2 separate regions of the Homo sapiens genome follow, and region 1 is linked to region 2. The links are contacts of gene promoters, found by promoter capture Hi-C in blood cells and fetal thymus (Javierre and others, 2016). All regions are on one chromosome and are shown on one strand. Each heading gives the region's core, a stretch centred on a gene start or on the middle of the fragment in contact. The rest is flanking DNA. Distances are from core to core; before and after follow the strand shown.

The links. The method cuts DNA at HindIII sites, captures the fragments that hold promoters and counts their contacts. A CHiCAGO score of 5 or more calls a contact.
Region 1: the fragment with the promoter of ZNF256 here is called in contact with the fragment with the promoter of ZNF772 in region 2 in 12 of 17 cell types (erythroblasts, fetal thymus, non-activated CD4 T cells and 9 more); the score reaches 10.0 in erythroblasts.

Annotation. Positions count from the first base shown.
Region 1 is chr19:57,946,370-57,949,069 of GRCh38, forward strand. ZNF256 (zinc finger protein 256) reads right to left here and starts at 1,337. Exons shown (of 3, transcript NM_005773.3): 1 at 1,073-1,337. The coding sequence starts at 1,105. RefSeq lists enhancers at 746-825, 1,316-1,415, 1,486-1,575. The HindIII fragment of the contact is 12,388 bases long and covers 1-2,700 here.
Region 2 is chr19:57,476,130-57,478,829 of GRCh38, forward strand. ZNF772 (zinc finger protein 772) reads right to left here and starts at 1,437. Exons shown (of 4, transcript NM_001144068.2): 1 at 1,148-1,437; 2 at 505-543. The coding sequence starts at 1,180. RefSeq lists enhancers at 638-1,161, 752-1,951. The HindIII fragment of the contact is 1,804 bases long and covers 1,092-2,700 here.

The DNA of each region.
Region 1 (2,700 bases), core at 87-2,586, 470 kb after region 2:
CCCTAGTGAATATTACTCCTATTGCCAATTTGTTCATCTTAGTTGATGAAACTTCTTTCCCTACAGCTGCTAATACCAAAAACCCTGGAGTCTTCTCTGAACCCTCTGTTTCACTCCCTCACCACCTACATTATGTAATTTAGTTGTCCCTTTTGAAACCACACATCCGGAATCTAACCACATCTCCTAAATCACGATCCTGGGCCAGTAACCCTCACTTGGACTAGTCTACCCTGATTTTCCTTCCTCCTCCCTCAACCCCCCAGTTTGTGCCCCACTGTGCACACAGATGAAGCCTGTGAAGACCTTGGTAAATTACCTCTTTTTTCTGATTCAAACTTGCTATTACCTCCTGAAAACACACTCAACTTCTCAGGCAGCCACTGCAGTCCTGACGCCTATCCTCCTGTTCTTTGCTTCCCACCAGAAAGCAAGGAGACTTGTGGCTTCATAAATGCACCCAGCTCCGTACTGCACCTAAGCATTTGCACATCTTGTACCTTTCTGGAAAAACTTTCCACACCCGTTCACATGGCTGCCAGAAATTGGAACAACTCTATATACCGGCTAACATGGACATAGGACCCTGGGCTTGGGGTTCACCCAAGGTCTTCAGAACTAAGGGCTGGGGGAATGGCACTCCACAACCCAGAGAACCTGTGGGTGGGAGTTAGGGCTAGTGAGAGACTGGGAAACCCTCCCCTTCCTGGCGTAGATTTCATAACCCTTTACAGCCAAGGGAAACGTAGAAAGAGCCAGGCCTCAGAGAAGAGCATCTATGGCGGTATTAGATGGGCTCAAGCCACCCCGTAGCCCCATGCCTGGCCTTGGAGCCGGGTGCCCTCGCAATGGCTGTGTCACCTCTGTGCCCCAGGGCTCAGTGGCGCCTCTCATCAGGGGCTCCTTGCCAGTCGCGCCCTCCCTTCCCTAGCACACCAGGTGTTGGAAACGGGAGCCCCTCCGGCGAGCCCCCGTGTCCTGTCCTGGGCAGCAGGGCCGCGAGCAAGCGCCCTCGGGGGTGCTAGGACTAGCGTGGGGAGGGCGGGGAAGGCCCAGAGGACGCGGCACATACCTGGGCCGGGGCCGTCAGCTCGGCCGCCGCCATCTGACTCTGTGAGCGGAGCGGGGCCAGAGAGGATGTCCTTATTCCGGGCCGGGCCTGGGTACCCTGGGCGCCGCCGAGCCTCAGCCACGCCTCTGTGCAGCGGGGAAGACTCCTCTCGCGCCTTCTCAGTCAGTCACGGATGATGCTGACCCAGCGCTCCGGGGCTTTCTACCAAGTAATCAGTCCAGACAAATGCCAAAACGACCGCCACAAGGAGGACAACGGAAGTCCCGCCGCGACCGCGCGTGCGCTTACGGAAACACCACCTTTCGGAGGCCTCATTGGCTGAAGGTCGCCGTCGCCCAACGCAGGCCATTCTGGGTAATGTTCCCACAGGCGCACGGCGGGAGAGTGAGGGTCGCCTCCACCTCCTTCCGGAAGTAAAGGCCAAACCCCTGTAGGGGGCGCTGGGAAATGGACACTCCAGGTTGGGGCGGAGGCGAGGCTTCGTTCTTTCTTAAAGGAGACGTACCCAGGTTTCTACCGATTGCTGTCTGCCAGTGTTTGTTTGGAGACGTGTCATTTCATGTGTTCCCAGAGGCACATATCCAGATGCACATATTATTACATACAGTCAGTCAGTCACAAAATATATCCACTGGTTGAGAAAGCAAATAAATATGACTATGTTGCGGCCGGGCGCGGTGGCTCACGCCTGTAATTCCAGCACTTTGGGAGGTCGAGGCGGGCGGATCACGAGGTCAGGAGATCGAGACCATCCTGGCTAACTCAGCGAAACCCCGTCTCTAAAATACAAAAAATACCACAAAAAAAAAAAAAAAAAGAAAAATTAGCTGGGTGTGGTGGCGGGCGCCTGTAGTCCCCAGCTACTCCGGAGGCTGAGGCAGGAAAATAGCTTGAACCCGGGAGGCAGAGCTTGCAGTGAGCCGAGATCGCGCCACTGCACTCCAGCCTGGGGGAAAGAGCGAGCCACTGTCTCAAAAAAAAAAAAAAAAAAAAAAAAAAAAAAAGACTATGTTGCAATTCAAACGCATGCACTCAAGCACTGGAGTCAGTTTTCTCAGTCTCTGTATGTTTGATTAGGGACAAGAAAAAAAACACTCCACACAGGTTCATGACAAAGAGGATGAAGGTGGGATGCGGAGGCACCCTGCAGCAGCAGGACATAAGTAGATCCCTGTCTCTGGGTCCCTCTCGTGCCTGTGTAGTCAAACATTGTGTCCAATTCACTAAGCAACACTTGCATGAATCTAATCTCACTTTCTCCATGCCTTTATATTCACTTCTTTTTAATAATTTGACATCAAGCTCAGAAAGAGAACAACAAAAGGAATGGTATTTTGAAAAGGCATGATGGCTAGCTAGAGCATTAACAGGTGGAACAAAGGGTGCTCTGAATCCCAAATGTAGGGTGTATCTTAAATTCAAGATCTCTTCTCAACGCTGAAATGATTATCTTTGCCCCCATTAGTTACGCTCTTGTTGCCCAGGCTGGAGTGCAATGGTGCGATCTCGGCTCACCACAACCTCTGTCTCCCGGGTTCAAGCGATTCTCCTGCCTCAGCTTCCCAAGTAGCTGGAATTACAGGCGCCCGCCACCGTACCCGGCTAATCTTTTTTTTTTTTTTTTTTTT
Region 2 (2,700 bases), core at 187-2,686:
ATCAGTCTACACTTCTTTCCATATGTACATCACTCTTTGGATCACAGTTATCTCACAACTCTGGCTCTCCACCATCACTTTCCTGGCTCACTAAATGCACTACCACTGTGAAATGAATATTCTCTTTTAACTCCCAATCTACATAATCATCTTTAAGCCATTTCAGGATGATTCCCGCCCCCTTGCTCTTGGTTCCCACCAGACATGACAGAGACCTGCAATTTCTTGAAAACTCCCTTCTCAGTCTCACCTCTAAGTATTTTGCACAGGCTGGTTCCTGTGCCTGGAACAACCTTCCAACCTTATTCCAATGGTTGGCAGAAATGGAAACCCCTCCATAAAACCCCTGGCCCGGAGTCAGGACCCTGGGCTTGGGGCTTCTCCAGAGTCCTCAGACCCAAGAGATCGGAGAGTAGCAGGAGAGTGTTCTATATAACACCACAATGCTGGAGAGCGTATTGGGTGGGGGTGGGATCGGTGAGAGCATGGACATTCTCCCCTCACCTGTATAGGGTCCACAATTACTTCTGAGTTCATGGGAACCTGTGGGGAAGAGGGAGACTATGCGAGTCAAGCAATCTTGAAGGAACCCCAAAGGCTCAACCCCATCCCATATTCCTACCCAGTTACAATGTGCCTGGGAGCTGAATGTCTACCCTCTGTGCTTCCATCTTCAAGGATACCTCTTAACTGTGTTAGCTCGGAACAGTGCTCATTATCCGCCCCCATGGCCAACAAGAGTCTGCCCTCCATGAGCAGTCTATGGAATACTTTTTAAACCCTCGGATTCTGGCTCTCCTCTGTTCAGAACCTTCCATGGCTCCCATCACCCTCAGAATAGAGACCCAGCTGCTCAGGATGATATTCCAGGTGCAATCACTTATAAAGCGCTCTGATCCTTTCAGACACTAAAGGCCCAGTTTTCCCAAATGCTCCAGCTGTGAACCATCTCTGAGCCTTTGCATACACTGGTCTCTCTGCCTGGAACGTCCTTCAACTCGTGCTGTCAAAATGGGTCCCAAACACGAGCGCCCCCACTGTTCTAGATACAGGGGCCTGAGCTGCAGTAACCCGAGGAATCGTTCATTCGAAGCTTTGGGATTCAGAGATGGGGGTCAGCGCGCAGACTCGCAGACGCAGCACCCACCTGTGCCGGGCCCATCGGCTCAGCCGCCGCCATCAGGCCTGTGGACTACGGAAGGGTGGCGACAAGTGCAGGAACCTGGGATCAGCTGTCCAGGGCCCAGCCCAGCGGCTAGGTCACTCAGGCAGCGCCACTGTCAAGCCTCAGGCCCACCTCTCTTCAGGGAAGAAGACACTCTCTCACGTTTTCCCTTTTCTGTCACCTCAGGTCTGACATTGCGTTCTGGAAACTAAACCAGTGGATTAATGGAAAAGCAAACAAAATGTCCACCCGAGGATGGTAGAGGAAGTCCCGCCCTGACGTTGGTGAGGACCAACGGAAACGCCTATTTCCTGGGTTTTCATTGGCCCAGAGCCGCCAAGTTTCCTGGGTAATGTAGTTCCCACGGCACCAACACTAGTAAGCGGCGTCTCGCTTCACCTCCAGGTTAAAAGCCCAGAGAAGACCGCCAGGGGCGCGTGGAAATGGTGTCCCTCGTCTCCAAGGCCCAGACGGAGCTTAGCTTCCTCTTGAAGGAGCCATATCTGTATTTCTGGTGAACGTCGTGTTTGACATCAAAGGAATGTTTAGAGACATGATTTCAGCCTTCCTTACGCAGAGAATGCTCATCAAAAAATAAAATGGACACACCATACACTGACGTCACTCAGATTTCTATGGCTGGAAGTTAACAAATATTGTTTTCAAATGCGTGTAGCCTGATGCTCCAGAGTTAGTTTGGCGAGCCTCAGCATTTTCTGTCAGGCACAAGAAAGAAAAGACTCCAGACACCATGATGTGGAACGTGGAGTGGGGATGTTTGGTGGCCTTGAAGTAAGTGAATAACCCTTCTGTCTGTTACCTCAGAAAATATTTATCCTGCTTATACAGCAGTGATTGTGTCAAACCCAACAAGTAATACTCTTGTTCAAGATAGTATTTCATACTCCATATACAGAGATGTATTCAATATTTTAAGTGTTTTACAAGTGTCTGAAAAGACAGAATTCATCAAATGTCATATGGCAATGAAAAGGGCAACATGAACACTTTCTGTAAAGAAGAAATAACCACCAAACTAGATGTCTATACACAACAAAATGTCTTTTATGGAAGTGTGATATAAAACTATTTGAAACCAAAAATGATAAATGTAATGGAAATACATTTACACAAAAAATAATGTTTAAAATAATACTCAAGGCCAAAGAAAGTTGATCTCAGGTGAAAAGTCTGCAATGAGAGAAGAAATGAAGATGAAAAGAAGTGCATCTTTTGATTAAAATAACAGCATATTACAGTGTAAAACATAAGTAGATATACTTATTGAGTTAGAATGATGGAATTCCCGTGCGTAACCTCAACTACATATAAATTGAAAGGAGGCTAGTTGCTCAAAGTTTTAAATTTTTTATATTTCCAAGTGGAAAGCAAATGTATTACAATCCTGTATGGCACGCTAATGTGTTAAACGTTTGTAATTTTTAGCCTAAATATAATAAATACAGTCAGCGTATATACTTTTCAAACTAGAAGAGGAAATGTTTGGAATATAAATAAATAATCAATAGAAAGGT